Regions from separate parts of the Homo sapiens genome. Here regions 1, 2, 3 and 5 are each linked to region 4. Evidence: promoter capture Hi-C in human tissues and cell types (Jung and others, 2019). All regions are on one chromosome and are shown on one strand. The core of a region is centred on a gene start or on the middle of the fragment in contact, and the rest is flanking DNA. Distances in the headings are between cores, read along the strand shown.

Region 1 (3,531 bases), core at 522-3,021, 200 kb after region 4:
AAATCTATTCAAACTAAAAAGACATGTTAATTTGGCTCAGTAATTCTATTCCTTGGAATCTATCAAAACCACCAACATGAAATGAATACATGAAGATGATCATTGTAGTATTTTTTACAGTGGATAAAAAGAACCAAGCCAACCAAATGAATTCTCATCAGTAAGGATTAAATAAATTCATAATTCTTATGGATATCACCAATTAAATGTACCATGTGACTTGGTAGAATTTCTATAAGGTATTCTGAGAGAAGCAAGACACAGAAAACTGGATATATTATTGTATTAGTCAATTTTCACACTGCTATAAAGATACTACCTGAGACTGGGTAATTTATGAAGAAAAGAGATTTAATTGACTCACAGTTCTGCATGGCCAGGAGGTCTCAGGAAACTTACAATCATGGCAGAAGGCAAAGGGGGAGCAAGACATGTTTTACATGGTGACAGGAGAGAGAGAGAGCACAGGGGAAACTGCCAGACACTTATCAAACAACCAGATCTCATGAGAACTCCCTCACTATTACAAGAACAACAAGGGGGAAACCATCCCCATGATCCAATCACCTCCCACCAGGTCCCTTTCTCGACATCTGGGGATTACAATTCCGATTACAATTCGAGGTGAGATTTGGGTGGGGACACAGAGCCAAACCATATCAAATGTATTCCTAGTTTTATTTTAAAATGGCTAAAAAGCATTCAAGAATATATATATGTATGTGCGTGTGTGTGTGTGTGTGTGTGTGTGTGTGTGTGTGTGTGTGTGTGTGGTATATCTTTGTAATGTATGTATATTTTATTTCTTAAAAAACTTTTAGGCTCCGGGGTGCATGTGCAGGTTTATTATATAGGTAATCTTGTGTCATGGGGGTTTGTTGTACAGATTATTTCGTCACCAACTTACTAAGCCTAGTATCCATTAGTTATTTTTTTGCTGATTCTCTCCCTTCTCTCACCCGCCACCCTCAAGTGGGCCCCAGTGTCTGTTGTTCCCTTTTTTGTCCATGAGTTCTCATCATTTAGCTCCCACTTATAAGTGAGAACATGCAGCATTCGGTTTTCTGGTTCCTGCGTTAGTTTGCCAAGGATAATGGCTTCCAGCTCCATCTGTGTGCCCATAAAGGACATGTTCTCATCCTTTTTTATGGTTGCATAGTATTCCATAGTATATATGTACACATTTTTTCTTTTTTTTTTTTTTTTCTTGAGATGGAGTCTCATTCTGTCACCCAGGCTGGAGTGCAGTGGTGTGATCTTGGCTCACTGCAACCTCCACCTCCCAGGTTCAAGTGATTCTCCTGCCTCAGCCACCCAAGTAGCTGGGATTACAGACGCCCACCACCACACCCTACTAATTTTTGTGTTTTTATCAGCGATGGGGTTTCACCACATTGGCCAGGTTAGTTTTGAACTCCTGATCTCAGGTGATCCACCCACCCCAGCTTCTCAAAGTGCTGGGATTACAGGCGTGAATCACCGCACCCGGCTGCACATTTTCTTTATCTAGTCTACCACTGATGGGCATTTAGGTTGATTCCACGTCTTTGCTACTGTAAATAGTGCACAATGAACATTCACGTGCATGTGTCTTTATAGTAGAATAATTTATATTCCTTTAGGTATATACTCAGTAATGAGACTGCTGAGTTGAATAATAGTTCTGTCTTTAGGTCTTTGAGAAATCACCACAGTCTTCCACAACGGGTAAACTAATTTACACTCCCACCAACAGTGTATAAGCATTCCCTTTTCTCCACTACCTTGCCATCTGTTATTTTTGACTTTTTAGTAATAGCTATTCTGACTGATGTGAGATAGTACCTCATTGCGGTTTTGATTTGCATTTCTCTAATGATCAATGATGTTGAGCTTTTTTTCATATGCCTGTTGGCTGCATGTATGTCTTCTTTCGAAAGCTGTCTGTTCATGTTATTTGCTCCCACCTTTTTTTTTTTTTTTTTGAGACAGGGTGTTGCTCTGTCACCTAGGCTGGAGTGCAATGGCACAATCTCAGCTCACTGAAGCCTCTGTCCCTGGGTTCAACTGATCCTCCTACCTCAACCTCCCAGGTAGCTGAGACTACAGGCGCACACCATCACGCCATTTTTTTTTTTTTCAAATTCTGAGTAGAGACAGGGTATCGCCATGTTGCCCAGGCTGATCTCAAACTTCTGAGCTCAAGTGATCCACTTGCCTCAGCCTCCCAAAGTGCTGGGATTACAAGTGTGAGCCGCTGCATCCGGCCTCACTTACCCACTTTTTAATGTATTTTTTTTTCTTGTAAGTTTATGTTCCTTATAGATGCTAGATATTAGGCCTTTGTCAGAGGCATAGTTTGCAAATGTTTTCTCCCATTCTGTAGGTTGTCTGTTTACTCTGTTAATAGTTTCTTTTGCTGTGTAGAAGCTCTTAAGCTTAATTACATCTGATTTGTCAATTTTTGCTTTTGTTTCAATTGCTTTTGATGTCTTTGTCATGAAATCTTGTCCATTCCTCTATCCAGAAAGGTATTGCCTATGTTGTCTTCCAGGGTTTTTATAGTTTTGGGTTTTACATTTAAGTCTTTAATCCACCTTGAGTTGATTTTTGTATACATAAGAAAGGAGTCCGATTTCAATCTTCTGCATATGGCTAGCCAGTTATCCCAACACCATTTATCAAATAGGGAGTCCTTTCCCTATTGCTTGGTTTTGTCAGCTTTGTCGAAGATCAGATGGTTGTAGGTATGCAGACTTATTTCTCACCTCTCTATTCTGTTCCAAGTAATGTATGTATATTTTCATTTGACTGAACAAGCATACAGAAAAAATATGGTAAATTATAAGCCAGGTTATTACTGTTACAGGGCAGAAGTAATGCTCACATTTATATACATATTTTAAATTGTATTTATGCATATAGATGTAAGTTTCAAAATAAATTTTTTAAATGCTGTAAAAATGCTAACTCCGTTAAGACATAGCTCTTAATGGCTAGAAAGGACAGACAGAAAATCAAACTCTCTGTGGTTGCATGTTTAATAGAAGCACTTGTTTCTATCACCCCAAATCAGCTGTCTTTCATCAGTGACATCTAAATCTGATCTCTCGAGCTTTCTTACCTTGACCTCTGAAATTATGCACAGTAGCCCCAACCCTTGTCTTACTGCTCCCCCATCTTCACAAAAGCTAACACTTCATCTCTGCTCTAGAGACCACCATCTCCTGCCCTTTCCAGCAACTATCATACATGTACTCTCTTCTGTCTCTTCAGTCCCTTCCTCCAGCTATGGGCTCAAATCTCTTCTCCCCAAGATTCTTTTCTACTTGAGAACTCCTTGCACAGTCAGATTTCACAAGAGTAAAATGGTCTGTTTTAATCATCTATTGATGACTTTCAAACTTCAATCTTTTTTTTTCTAGTCTAAGCTCCCTATATCCAATAGCCTACACATCATCTCCACCAAGGCATCTCAAGGCATTTCAGACTCAGCATGTCTGTTAGTCTGCTACAGTTGCTATAACAGAATACCACAGCCTAGGTGGCTTA
Region 2 (3,598 bases), core at 533-3,032, 250 kb after region 4:
TGAGGGGCACCTCTGCCCGGCCGCCCCTACTGGGAAGTGAGGAGCCCCTCTGCCCGGCCAGCTGCTCCGTCCGGGAGGGAGGTGGGGGGGTCAGCCCCCCGCCCGGCCAGCCACCCCGTCCGGGAGGGAGGTGGGGGGGTCAGCCCCCCGCCCGGCCAGCCACCCCGTCCGGGAGGGAGGTGGGGGGGTCAGCCCCCTGCCCGGCCAGCCGCCCCATCCAGGAGGGAGGTGGGGGGGTCAGCACCCCCGCCCGGCCAGCTGCCCCATCCGGGAGGTGAGGGGCGCCTCTGCCCGGCCACCCCTACTGGGAAGTGAGGAGCCCCTCTCCCGGCCAGCCGCCCCGTCTGGGAGGGAGGTGGGGGGGTCAGCCCCCCGCCCGGCCAGCCACCCCGTCCGGGAGGGAGGTGGGGGGGTCAGCCCCCCGCCCGGCCAGCCGCCCCATCCGGGAGGTGAGGGGCGCCTCTGCCCGGCCGCCCCTACTGGGAAGTGAGGAGCCCCTCTGCCCAGCCAGCCGCCCCGTCCGGGAAGGAGGTGGGGGGGGTCAGCCCCCCGCCCGGCCAGCCGCCCCGTCCGGGAGGGAGGAGGGGGGATCAGCCCCCCGCCCGGCCAGCCGCCCCATCCGGGAGGGAGGTGGGGGGGTCAGCCCCCCACCCGGCCAGCCGCCCCGTCCGGGAGGTGAGGGGCGCCTCTGCCCGGCCGCCCCTACTGGGAAGTGAGGAGCCCCTCTGCCCGGCCAGCCGCCCCGTCCGGGAGGGAGGTGGGGGGTTCAGCCCCCCGCCCGGCCAGCCGCCCCGTCCGGGAGGTGAGGGGCGCCTCTGCCCGACCGCCCCTACTGGGAAGTGAGGAGCCCCTCTGCCTGACCAGCCGCCCCGTCCGGGAGGGAGGTGGGGGGGTCAGCCCCCCGCCCGGCCAGCCGCCCTGCCCGGGAGGTGAGGGGCGCCTCTGCCCGGTCGCCCCTACTGGGAAGTGAGGAGCCCCTCTGCCCGGCCACCACCCCGTCTGGGAGGTGTGCCCAGCAGCTCACTGAGAACGGGCCATGATGACAATGGCGGTTTTGTGGAGTAGAAAGGGGGGAAAGGTGGGGAAAGGATTGAGAAATCGGATGGTTGCCATGTCTGTGCGGAGAGAGGTAGACATGGGAGACTTTTCGTTTTGCTCTGTACTAAGAAAAATTATTATCCTGTTGATCGGTGACCTTGCCCCCAACCCTGTGCTCTCTGAAACATGTGCTGTGTCCACTCAGGGTTAAATGGATTAAGGGTGGTGCAAGATGTGCTTTGTTAAACAGATACTTGAAGGCAGCATGCTCCTTAAGAGTCATCACCACTCCCTAATCTCAAGTACCCAGGGACACAAACACTGCGGAAGGCCGCAGGGTCCTCTGCCTAGGAAAACCAGAGACCTTTGTTCACTTGTTTATCTGCTGACCTTCCCTCCACTATTGTCCTATGACCCTGCCAAATCCCCCTCTGCGAGAAACACCCAAGAATGAACAATAAAAATAAAAATAAACAAACAAACAAACAAACAAAATTTTTCTCTTTTCGATAATAAACTAGCTCACTGTAACTTTTTTAATTTATAAACTTTTAAATTTAACTTTTTGACTCTTGTAGTAACACTTAGCTTAAAACATTATAAAGTTGTATAAAAATAATTTCTTTCTTTATATCCCTATTCTGTAAGCTTTTTTCTATTAAATTTTTTTTATTACTTTTAAAATTTGCTTGTTAAAAACTAAGACACAAACACATACATTAGGTTAGGCCTATACAAGGCCAGGATTGTCAGGATATCACTATGCAATAGGAATTTTTCAGCTTGATTCTGATCTTTGGGACCGCCATCATAGGCGCGGTCTGTCATTGACAGAAACGTCATTTTGTGGCATATGACTGTATTTTAATGGAAGTTCCTGCAAAGGAATAGGTCAGTAGTTTAGACAGAGTATGCAATTGCCCTCTTAGAGTCATTTTGCTTTGAGTCTATCCAAGGCAGGATCGTAAGTAACCAGGGAAACAGATGAGGATAACTTGTTGGGAGGACAAGAGTCTATTAACCAGATCAGCCTTCAAATAATTCTGGTGATAGAAACCATCACCTGAAACTGTACTTAACATTTTAAATCAGATAAACTAAATAGGCAGGAATTACTAAGATTCAATCATAGAGGATTTGAAGTAGTAGAAATTTAGGACAATTGACCTGGGACTATAAAAGTGGCAGAATGAAGCCTCCCCAGATTCACGTGGAATCCGTGCTGAAACAATATCCTGAGTGACTGTGTTCCCAAATCTGCTGTCATTGTTGGTTCTAACCCAGGTAAAGTAGGGTGCGTGTGTGTGTGTGTGTGTGTGTGTGTGTGTGTGGTCAAAGACCCAAGGTCATGGTAAGGAGCACACCAGCTCTCTTACTTGGCCTTCATGGACCAAAAGAGAAACTGGGAGATCCAAACCCATATGCCTAAACCTGTAACACAGAGGGCTATTTTTACCCAGGCAAGAATCTAATGATCAGAGCAAAGAGGAAGCAATGTGAAGCCATCAAGATGAGACTTCAAGATGATCTGAGATGACAAAAAAATCAGTGGCAGAATTAGGGGAACTGGCCAGACCTGACTTCCCCCAACTGGGAATCTGAGACGGGCGGATTACTTGAGGTCAGGATTTCAAGACCAGCCTGGCCAACATGGTGAAACCACATCTCTACTAAGAATACAAAATTACCTGGGCATGGTGGTGTGTGCCTGTAATCCCAGCTACTCGGGAGGAGGGAGGGTCACTTGAACCCAGGAGGTGGAGGTTAACAGTGAGCTAATAATGATGCCGCTGCACTCCAACCTGGGTGACAGAGCAAGATTCTGTCTCAAAAAAAAAAAAAAACCAGGGAAACTTTTACCCTCTTAAATCTCAAAAATAAATAAATAAATATAGCACTTTGGGGCAGTCAGTAAAGGGTTGAAGTAAATGGGAAATGGTTCCTTTCGCCATAATAGAATGTTCATTCTGAAAAGTGGAGTATGGAGGCACTAATTATGACATGGTCTAGAGCAAGGTTCTATATATATGTATACATGAGTTTTAAAAGGGGGTGGAGGTTCCTTTAAATACATACAGTTATCTCCAAAGGAATGTTCTAGTTCCTGGGATTGGCTTGGGGAGGGGGTGAGGCTTACAGCAGGGTTAGGTTCCAGAAGCTTAACAGGCAGGACATTAGAGTCCAGGGGGGCAAGAAGCAGAGACTGAGTGAAAATACAGAACCACATTCAAGAGAGCATGTGGGGATCAACCCGGAGAATCCAGTCCAACCCAAGATCAAGGGGCTGGCTCCAAGCCAAGAACAGGAAAAGCAGCCAGGAGAGTGAAAGAAGGAAAGGAGGAAAGACTGGCCCAAAGTCAGAGAGTTAGAGAGCTTATTGTATACAAGATCAGGTGCCTGAAGGGCTCTCATATTGGGCTCCAGCCACACAGGTTTGAATAGTCAACCTGGCTTAAAGGAACACATAAGAGTGAAATTGAATGATCCAAGGAAAAATAAATGCCAGAAAAACTCTGTCTCCACTCTCAGCTATCTCAACTATCAATCTCATTTCTCACAC
Region 3 (3,333 bases), core at 628-3,127, 160 kb before region 4:
GATGATGCTGATGCAGGTAGCTCAAGGACCACACTCTGGGGGAAACTTTATGCTGTGCTGTGGAACTGACTATCTGTTCTCAATAGATGTATCAAGGTGATGGGGAGAGACCAACACAGTGCAAACACTCGTCCCCCATCATTGCTGCCTTTCCTCTGCCTTTAGGGCCTGCAATCTAACAAGGTTTCATCAAGGACCAGAATTCTAATTGACAGAGGATCTGGTATGGCTGGAGAGAAAACAGCATTTCAGGTGAGGCAGAGCAGTAACAAATGGTAACAAGCTACATTCCAGCTTAAGTTTCTCTGAGCTGACAACTCACACCCTCCATCAAATCCACTCTTACCAGCACATTCTAGAGTTAAATGACTCCACTGGCAGAAAGTCCTGCCTCCCAGCTCACCTGCATAGTGCATACTTGAAATTTGGAGCCGTTTTTTGTTGTTTTTAATTCTGCACTCAACAGCAACAGGGACATCAAACACCATCCTCAGATAGTTGAGAACCATTTATGCAGTGTTAAGTAACACACTCAGAAAGGCCATGGTAAGGGAAATGCTAAGTTCAAGTATGCTCTGAATCAAGATTTTGCATGAATTCTTCCATGGTTTGAATTCCTATTTATAATAACAGTTTGGAAGGTCTTCCATAGGTCCTTTCAGCTTTCAGTAGTACAACTTGGAAATAGTTTATTCTCTCATAACTCATATGGGAAGTGTCTGCCAAGCCTCAAACAGTCTTTTTTTTTCCCTGACAAATACTTCAAGACAGGGCTGCACTCAAGCATTCAAATTTGGTAGCATTAACTCTAGTAACATAACTCTGACAGTCCACTTAAGGAGGGGAGAAAAATCATAAAACCCTTCTGCTTCACTTAATTTAATGTTTGACAAGTCCCTTAAAGAATAACTGGGATATTCTCACCAAATGCTTTAAGTCCTGTTTTTACCACATCTGTCCCTGGAGTTTGTTCATGGACATCTTATGATATAATAAATCCTTCTTTCCTGACACCCAGCCCCCAAACAAGGAATGTGTTAGACAGACGGTATTAATCACTGGGTGGCAATCTGATTTCGAGGCAGATATCGTGTGACAGGAGAATGGCATGCTTCATTTTGCATTGTCCTCACCACAAGATGCCTTTTAGTCAAAGCTGGTCAGGTGAGAACAAATATTTTTCTCTATTTAAGAATTTAATGGGATCAGCCCAAATTCAGTTCATGAACTCAACTTAGTCACATGTGATTGTGGCTAGACATCAAATCCAGCAACAGAGGCTGGATTTCTGTAGTGGAGAATAAAATGGGGATAATTGTGGTGTTTTTTTCCCTGTGGTCTTCTATGTATCCTGGTAGGCATTCCAAAATTGGAAAATTGGTATTTTTCTGATGTTGGACATTGCTATTTGAGTCAGTCACATTATGCAGATGCATTTCAGACTTTCTGTAGAGAGTTTTGTTGTTAGAAAAACTATCCTACTAAGTAGGATCAAAGGCACTTTCTCTTGCAGAGTAGTTTTCAAGGAGAAGATAAAAGCAATTTTTATTGGTAAAAGCTAACTCACATTTAGTTAACCAACAAGCCAACCGGAAATCATTTATTGAGCCTCTCTTATTGCCATTATACTGTAACTCTATAACAGTATAACAATACAATAGGACCAGTCCTTACTTTCCAGAACTACAAAATCTGGGTAAACAGACAAGACTTACTTAGGGTGAGGGAACAATTATAACTCCCATATTCAGCCCTGTGTATGCTTGGTCCATGATAGATATTTAATCATTTCTTACATATACAATAATTGACTGCTAAACTTTAAGGTACAAATAATAAATTCTGGTCATCAGACAAGAGATAATGTGAGGTTTTCTCAAGCTTCTTTGACCATGGAACCCAGCTTTCAGGAAGCTCTTCAGGTAATCATGTTCCATAGAACTTGCTTTGGGAACTTTGGCTCAAATGCACATGGGAGAGGTGGAATTCCTACTATATGAATTCCAGGAAGAGGAGCAAAGAATTAAATGGATGGAAATGAGGGGAGAATCGAGGCAGAGAGAATAACAAAAACATAAGGTGAGGACAAAATTAACCTGAAGCATGGGGAGGTAAAAAATTTTTACCTTTTATAATTGAAATCATTAGAGAATTAAGTGGCTTTTACAATATTCTATATTTCTAAATAGCATCTGTTTTAGCTGAAATAGTGAAAGCCTGAGGGAGGCAAACTTGTGACAGTACAATAAACAATTGGTTTTGTATTCTTATGGAAAACTAGCAATCAGTGAAACCATGTTTAGGGTGCAGAGCACAGACCACCATGCCCAATAGTCTCATAGTTCTCTATGTAAGCTTCTGTAGAAAACAGGGATAGGGGATGGGTGGGGGGACCTGAGGAGGAACATGGGGAAGAAGGGGAAAGTCTTATTTTTTGTACCTTTTTCTAAAGTAGGAGATGCCAATATGACATTTGTGACTCTAGATGTTTTTGTTTCTTCACTGATTTTTCTATATTTTATAATGGCCTTCTAAGGGCATTATCATTTCTTACCATCTCTTTTACTTTCTTTCTTTCTTTTTTTTTTTCCTGGCTGTTTCTTCTTCCAAATGAATCTTCAGGAAAATTCAGGTTTGCTACAGGATTTAGACAACTTTTTCTGTTCTGTCTTGAATGTGCAATTAATCAGTTGTGTGTTGAGCGAATCTCCTAAATTTCTTTATTTCAGCTTCCTCTTTTGCAATAAAGGAGGTGAACTGGAAGATGGTCTCTAAAATCTTATCCTCCCTACTAAAAGAGCCATTTTTGATATTGAGACAACCCCTGTCAAACAAAGAAAATCCACACTCCACCTAAGCCCTGTCCCAGTGATCACTGCCACCTGGGGGCAGCCCTTTTGCTGTGTTTATGGCCTTTCCACAAAGTTCCATCACTACACTCAATCAGCCTATATTCTTATGGTGTTTCTGCAGGTCTGTCTTTTCTACTACAATGTGAAGTGCTTGATTCAGGGGCCATATGTTTTTCATATTTTCTTACCTAGTCTTACTCCAGGAGGCAACACTCCAATGCAATATGGCCTAGTGGTTAAGAACCTGGTGATTTCAGTCTTGGCTCAGCCACTTACATGTTGTATGGCCTTTGGAAAATTGCTTATGCTCCCTTTGCCTCTGTTTCTTCACCTGTAAAGGGAGGATAAAAATAATAGCTTTTACTTTGTGATCCCATTTAACAAACACAGAGCACAAGGCACGGTGATTAAAAAAAAATAGCTTATTTTCAGTAACCAACACATACCAAATGACAAAATCTTTGAATAAAGGAATAAGTCT
Region 4 (3,486 bases), core at 44-2,543:
TACTCGAATCTTCTCCTAATGCCGAAATGTGTTTACAGGTAGCCTCAGTTTACCAAGTATGTATCTTTTGGGGGTTTAACCTCTCACAAAGCCTTCAACTCACAAACCGCGATCCTTGGAAACCATCCTCCAAAGCAGTGCTTGGAGGCCTCTAAGGCCCCCGGACCAACTCCCGCTGGAAGAAGCCTGCAGGGACTCGGGAATCACGGGAACCTTTCCCGTCGGTTCCGGGCCTGGAGGGCCAGGAAGAGCCGCGCGTCCGCCTTTCGTCCCGCCAGGAACTCCCCATAGGACACGACACCGCAGGAACAAGCGTCCTGGGAGCCCCTGGGATCTTGGCTGTCGTCTCTAGGGACCCTACACCGTGAAATGATAGAGGCGAGGTTCCTTGGGTTCCGCAAGTCGACGAAAATAGCTCGTGGAGAAGGCGCGTCCTGCAACTGCAGTTCGCAAGCTCTCAGGGCGCCCCGCCAGCTGGGGGCCAGATTGGGTGACACTCCCCTCGACGCAGCCTCCGGAGCGGCGCGCACTCTCCAGAGGCCAGCAGGACTGCGCTCTCTACCGCAGAACCTGCTCCAGCTAGGTGTTCTCTCCCCATCTCGCCGTCGCTCTGCCCCCTCACTCTCTCTGGACCTCAGAGCCGGTTCTCTCCTTCCTCCTCCCGCGCTTTCCGTCCGGGGATCGCAACCTCCAGCCCGTGGGCAACGCGTTCAGCCCAAGACCCCACAGTTTTTCCCAACGACCCCCCTACCAAGGGCTTCTCTTGTTTCTGCTCTCCTGCCCCGCACTTCCCAAAGGTGAGAATCTCCCAGGGACTGCTGGACAGAGAAGGCCTGGGCAGGGGCAGTAGCCGATATTTAAAGGTCTTTCAGCGCCAGCATCCCCACCTCCAGCACCACTATTGGAAAATAATTAGGCCACCTTTTGCCTCGGTCACAGCCTGTGACCAGCTTCTTCCCCCCAAGGAGGCTCCTAGACCCCCTCTGCCTGTCTCCCCTCACCAGGTAGCCTTGCTCACCATAGGTCCCTGCAGTAGCGGGCTCGCCAGCAGCAGCTCCTGGGGACCTCTGAACGGTTGCAGTGAACCTGGGCGAGGGCCGGGGACTGTGGCGCTGCAGGCTCGAGATAGCTTGGACGGGAATCCCATCGGGGAGACAAGCTAGATACTCAGCCGGAGCAGCAGCGGCGTCTCAGGCTCGCGTCCCTCAGCTCGGATGCCACACTCACCTAGCTTCCGGGCCGGGCTCCGCGCTCCTTCCCTCCCTCCCTCCTCCTCTGCCTTCTCGCATCTTCCTTCCTCCTCTTTCCCTCCCTCGCTTTCTTTCTTTCCTTCCTCCTCCTCTTCCCCGGCGGCCCCTCCCTCCTTCCCTCCTCCCTCGCTCGCCTCCCTTTCTGGGGATGGGAGCCCCGCCCACATCCTCCCCTCCAGCCGCCCGACCTCGCCTAGCAGGCCCGGGTCCCGGAAGCCCAGGCAGCGCCCGAGTCCGCAGCTGCCGTCGGAGCTGGGACGCCGCTGCCTCCAGCTCTGGGAAGCGGCTGGGGCTCACCTGGGGACCACGTGCGGAGGTACTAGAAAGCATGCACCGACTAGTCGCCGTACCTTCCAAAAATACCCATGGGAGTCTGGGCTTCCCTGAGTTTAGTGTAACTGCTGCCCAAACTGATGATTAAAACACTGAGTAATCACCATTTACCCTGAGTAATTAGAGATAATGAAACACCTCTAAAATCAGGTTATGGAGAAAGGAGCTGTTGGATCGGTTTAAAAGGTGGCCTTCCATAAACTGTTAAAAGATTTCCAAACGTTGAGAAACAGGCTGTGTGCAGAACTGTGTGCCAGAGAGAGATACCTCTTGGGCTGTTAAAAGGTGAATTTCCTTCCAAAACATTCTTAAAGTGCGTTTTGTAGAACACCTTGGTGATGACCCTGAGGTAGACCCCAGTAAATGAGCTCACTTCCCTCCTCCCCCCAAGGCCTAAAGACAGAGGTGGCCTGCAGACAGGCTGGGGCCACGTTTTTTACAGTTAGAAAAATCTGTTTCTAGCTCAGAAGCCGTCTTAAGAACCGACACAGCAGTTATTTTTGTTGGTGTTATGGTTGTTGTTGATTTTTTTGTTCATTTTTGGTGTACCTAAGAGTCCTGACACTCTGTCTTTCCAAGGAGATAACCACAGAAGCAGTAACCTTTTAGGCCACAGGGAGACAAGAAAAGATGCCCCTTGGTCTGTTTTTAAAGGAAGAGGGGAGATGAGGAATTGGCCCTTTCATATAAAAACATTTTAGTAATCATATTAGCAGGGAGGTGGAATGTGGTGGCTTTTAAACCTTCCCAAACAGGAACTAATTTCACACACTGCCTCTGATGGAGCTGTGAGGGAGCTATCAGCCTCATCTCTCTGTTTTACAAACAAGGAAAGGCAGGACTACCAGGTTAAAGGGACTTGCCCAGATCTCTGAAGTAAATCACAGCCTCTGCTCCAGAGCTAATGCTTCAGGGAGGGGTTGAGGCTCATAGCCTGAGCTCCAGGTAGCCAGAGGAGTGCTGGAAGACTGAGCATTTCCTGTCCTGGATTTCTTTCCCTGGGACAGACATGACACTTTACTGTCTCTGCAAAGCATTTAGGTCTTTACTTAAACAGATATTGGCCCTGGGTGGCTCATCTATAAAAACTTTACGTTTATACACCTTCGATATTTAAAAAACAAGAACTACTTCCTGTGTGGAACACAGATTACAAAGGGTGGGAAATATCTGAGATCAGAGAAGCAACTGTCAGAGCAAGGCCAAGACATCCTGCCATCTTTTCCATCTATTAGGCCTAGGTCTTTTGGCCTAATGCACCAAACAACAGAAACAAGCTGTATGGCTTTGGGCAAGTCTTTTCATTCCTATGAGTCTCAGTTTTCTCATCTGCAGAATGAAAGGATTGGGCCAGATCATCTGCATGCTCCCTTTATATTTGAAAATGATTTGATTATTTAATTGTAATTTTAGCCAAAGTCCGTCTTCCTTCATTTTAAGTCACTCCTGAGTTCACTTTCTCTAAGAACCACTGATTAAAACAGGGCAGGGCAATAACACCACCCCAAAAGGAGGACAAAATATACCTGTAGCTTCCAAATAGTCAAAATCACAATTAATTATTAAAAATAATAACAGAAAATTAAAACTCCATTAAATAGTTACCTAATGTTTCTCCTGCAGCATCAGGCATTGTGCTCCTTTAGCATGGTACCTGAAGTCAGGACAGATTAAATGCTCACTGAGCCCCTAAATCAATCACTGTTGTTTTAATCATTAACGAAATGTGGTTCTTAATATTTAAACTCAGAAACAACAGTGATATGCTGGACTTAAAGGCAGGACTTTATTTTACTTTAAAGCACCAATGTCATTTCGGGGTTTTTTTAATTCCAAAGGTTTTTGAATGACAGCTATTGTCTCATTTTGCTGCAGCCCAGACACTAAAGTGGCCACTGATTGG
Region 5 (3,656 bases), core at 576-3,075, 130 kb before region 4:
TATAATTTTCTAAAGTGTTGTTCACTACAGCAACAAAAAATAACATACCTAGGAATAAATCTTCAAAATGTATATGACTTTTATGAAGTAAATTATAAAATGTTACTGAAATACATTAAATGAGATCTTTATAAAAGAGATATCACATTTACAGATAGAAAGACTCAGTAATGAAAAACATGTCAATTTCCCCAGTTGACCTAGAGATTTTGTATAATTTCAGTCGAAATCCTATAGAACTTTTTTATTGAGTTAATCAAGACAATTTTAAAATAGAGAAACATGAAGAACCAAGAATTGCCAAAACACTCCCGAAGAAACACAAGCTGAAGAGACTGCATCTACCAGAGAGAAAGACTTTTTATATGGCTATAATAAAAATAATATAATGTTAGTTAAAAGAGAGACAAAAGACCAATGGAACAGATTAGAGAATCCAGAAATAGAACCATAATAATATAGAGAAATCTGCTTTATGAAAGAGCAGGCAGGGCAAATCAGTGAGGATGAACTCTTTAAGATACAGCACTGGGACAATTACAGCTCTATATGGAAAAAGATCAGTGAAATTGTATTTTCATCTCACACTATTTACAAAAGTTTATTGAAAGTATTATACAAGGAAAATTATAAAACTTTAAGAAGACATCGTAGAAGAATAAATGTATGCCTTTGGTTAAGGAAGGATTTCTTAAACAGTATACAAAATGTGCAAGCCATAAGAAAAAAAGATTAAGTGAAATTATATGAAAAGAAAGACCTTTGTTCTTTAAAGGATGCCATGATGAAAGTGAAATTACCAGCTACAAATTGGGATAACTTATTTGCCACACATATAATGGACTAAGAATGGTAATCAAAATATTGTAAAAACTCCTAAAAATCTATTTTAAAAAATCAAACAATCCAGTAGAAAAATGAGCAAAGAACTTAGACACTTGGAGGAAGAAAAAACAATGATGACCACTGAATATATAGAAGTATGCCCAACCTCATTTATCACTAACTAGATGTGTTAGATTACGTTGTATCAACTTAGTTAAGCTGGGAGCTCTTTTTCCCAGAGTCCCTGTCCTTCTATCATATTTGGTTAGAGTTGATAAAACATAGTAATTTGGAAGGTGGATGTGAAACAGTGGTTATAACCCTCTGAAGGTCTTAGTGACGAAGAAATGCAAAAGTACCCCACAGGTTATAGTTTAACCAAGAGCTGTGACCAACTCTTCTTCACTACTGGCCCAGTAGTCAATGGCCCAGGCCCCTCAACCAAATGTTTGGCTGTGGAGCCACCAGCCAGTTTCTGCACAAAAGCAAGAGCTTCCTCTGCACCTCTTCACAAACTTCCTCTTTATGGTCCTACTTTCTCAGCAGGATGTGCTTTATTTATCAATCACCCTGCAAGCTTTGACTTGCCCCCCATGCCAGTGCTGCGGGAAGCTGCTTAGGGACTAGCCATCTCTGACCCCTCAACCCCTTGTAGTCTTTCACCTCCCTGGTTCCTCCCACATTCATGTGAGCTCTAATTGCAATGATAAATTCTTTATCTTGTAATAGTTATCACGACTGTGCTTCCCCAACTGGACTCTGATTGATACATCAAACAAAACACAACAGTGCTATTGGTATGACTTCCTTCACCTCCTTCTGGTCTTTGTTCAAATGCCCACCTGACCACTCTATTGAAGTTCAGTCCCACCCCAGCACCAGCACTACCTAGTCCCGCTCTGTTTTAATTTTCTCTTTAGTACTTACCAGATACTAAAATACTAAATAACTTTCATATATATTTTATTTGCTGTGTGTATTCTCCACTAGAATGTAAGTTCTATGAGGGCAAGGGCTTTAGATTTTGTTTTGTTTTTGTTTATTTTGTCTGTTTTATTCACTGATATGTCTCTATCAGGCACTTAATGAATGTTTGTTAGGTAAAAAAGTGGGATTTAATTTTGCATACATTAGATTGGCAAAATAACTAAAAAGTCAAAACATGCCAAAAATCCGCAAGGATGTAAAGCGAAGGGCATTTTTATACATTTATACTACAATCACTCTGAGAAAAACTTGGCATTACCTAGAAATTTAAATATGTATATATCCTACAACAGAGGGGTCCTCAACCCCCAGGGGCCACAGACTGGTACGAGTCTGTGGCCTGTTAGGAACTGGGCCGCACAGCAAGATGTGAGTGGCAAGCAAGCGAGCAAAGCTTCATCTGTATTTAGCCACTCCCCATGGCTTGCATTACTGTGTGAGCTGTACCTCCTGTCAGATTAGTGGTTCTATTAGATCCTCATAGAAGCGTGAACACTATGGTGAACTGCACATGTGAGGGATCTTGGTTGTGCTCTCCTTATGAGAATCTAATGCCTAATGATCTGTCACTATTTCCCATCGCTCCCAGATGGGACAATCTAGTTGCAGCAAAACAAGCTCAGGGCTCCCACTGATTCTACATTATGGAGAGTTGTATAATTACTTCATTACCCATTACAATGTAATAATAATAGAAATAAAGTGCGCAATAAGTGTAATGTGCTTGAATCATCCCAAAACCATCCCCCCGACAACCCCTGGTCTATGGAAAAATTGTCTTACATGAAACCAGTCCCTGGGGCCAAAAAGGTTGGGGACCACTGCTACAACACAGAAATTCCACTTCTAACTCCTCACTGAAGGGAGAAAGGATAATCTCTGCCACAGCTGTAAAACAGGAATCTATACAGCAGTGAAAATGAATGAATTAGATTTGTACACAAAAATGTAATTAATCTCTTAAGTATAAAGTTGAGCAAAGAGGGATTCATAGCATAGAGCATTATTCCATCAACATAAATTTCAAAAGTATGGAAAACTAAACATTGTATTTCTAGAGATACATACAGATGTGGTAAAACTATTTAAAGAAAGAAAACAAATAATAGATAAAAAATTCAGTCCAGTGGCTGTCTCTGGGGCAGGGAGAGGGATGAAATTGAAGAGGAGCACCTGGAATTTTTCAGGAGATTATTAATGCTCTATTTATTAAGCAGGATGGCATTTTAATGAGTTTTATTTTTGATATATTTAATATTTTACCTAAATTTTTATTTTTTATTTTGATTTTTAAATTTCTATATATTCATAGTGTGCAAGTGCAATTTTGCTACATCAATGTATCACATTGCAGTGAAGGCAGGACCTTCGGTGCATCTATCACTAGAGCGACGCACATTGTACCCACCAAGTGACCACCCGTCATTCACCCCCTTAAAATTTTATTTTAAAACTTTTGCCAAAGAGATGATACACTGTCCAGAAATAGGAAAACTTTGTCATGAATTAGTATAATAAAATTGAATCCTAGTTTTTATGCCTTTTATTCATCCTTAAGATAGTACTTGAACTGACAAATACTTCTTAAATTCTTTCAAAATTGTATATTTGAAGTTTTGGCCTAGGCTCTTGGATTACAAGAAACAGAAGTCCCCTCAAGCCAGCTTAAACAAAAGTAGAAATGAATTTTAAGGAATATACTCTACGTCTCACAGACCCCAAGGATAAGAATGTAGCCAAGCCTGGAATTGGGAATGGAAAGAGGTCATGACAGTTTCTCTGTTTCTGCTTCTTTCCTCAATTGGTCTCATTCCTTCCTCTTTTCACAGTGGCTTTCCTTGCTA

Evidence for each region. The method cuts DNA at HindIII sites, captures the fragments that hold promoters and counts their contacts. A contact is called where the count stands out against the background at its distance.
Region 1: a fragment that was not itself captured here is called in contact with the fragment with the promoter of BMP4 in region 4 in 1 of the 25 tissues and cell types used here (H1 embryonic stem cells).
Region 2: a fragment that was not itself captured here is called in contact with the fragment with the promoter of BMP4 in region 4 in 1 of the 25 tissues and cell types used here (aorta).
Region 3: a fragment that was not itself captured here is called in contact with the fragment with the promoter of BMP4 in region 4 in 1 of the 25 tissues and cell types used here (H1 embryonic stem cells).
Region 5: a fragment that was not itself captured here is called in contact with the fragment with the promoter of BMP4 in region 4 in 1 of the 25 tissues and cell types used here (mesenchymal stem cells).

The regions. Positions count from the first base shown.
Region 1 is chr14:54,153,680-54,157,210 of GRCh38, forward strand. The region is part of intron 4 of LOC105370507 (a long non-coding RNA gene); the gene reads right to left. Among named protein-coding and RNA genes, the nearest start is that of BMP4, 200 kb to the left of the region's middle. The HindIII fragment of the contact is 3,060 bases long and covers 242-3,301 here.
Region 2 is chr14:54,203,393-54,206,990 of GRCh38, forward strand. No RefSeq gene overlaps it. Among named protein-coding and RNA genes, the nearest start is that of CDKN3, 190 kb to the right of the region's middle. The HindIII fragment of the contact is 3,845 bases long and covers 1-3,598 here.
Region 3 is chr14:53,790,214-53,793,546 of GRCh38, forward strand. LINC02331 (long intergenic non-protein coding RNA 2331) reads right to left here. Exons shown (of 6, transcript NR_184221.1): 3 at 3,129-3,183. Among named protein-coding and RNA genes, the nearest start is that of LINC02331, 59 kb to the right of the region's middle. The HindIII fragment of the contact is 4,401 bases long and covers 1-3,333 here.
Region 4 is chr14:53,955,532-53,959,017 of GRCh38, forward strand. It overlaps BMP4 (bone morphogenetic protein 4), which reads right to left and starts at 1,294. Exons shown (of 4, transcript NM_001202.6): 1 at 1,019-1,294. LOC124903317 reads left to right here. Exons shown (of 2, transcript XM_047432035.1): 1 at 1-797. The coding sequence starts at 370. RefSeq lists promoters at 1-192, 1,120-3,238, 1,120-2,462 and silencers at 418-527, 1,177-1,256. The HindIII fragment of the contact is 13,246 bases long and covers 1-3,486 here.
Region 5 is chr14:53,823,032-53,826,687 of GRCh38, forward strand. The region is part of intron 2 of LINC02331 (long intergenic non-protein coding RNA 2331); the gene reads right to left. Among named protein-coding and RNA genes, the nearest start is that of LINC02331, 26 kb to the right of the region's middle. The HindIII fragment of the contact is 4,607 bases long and covers 1-3,656 here.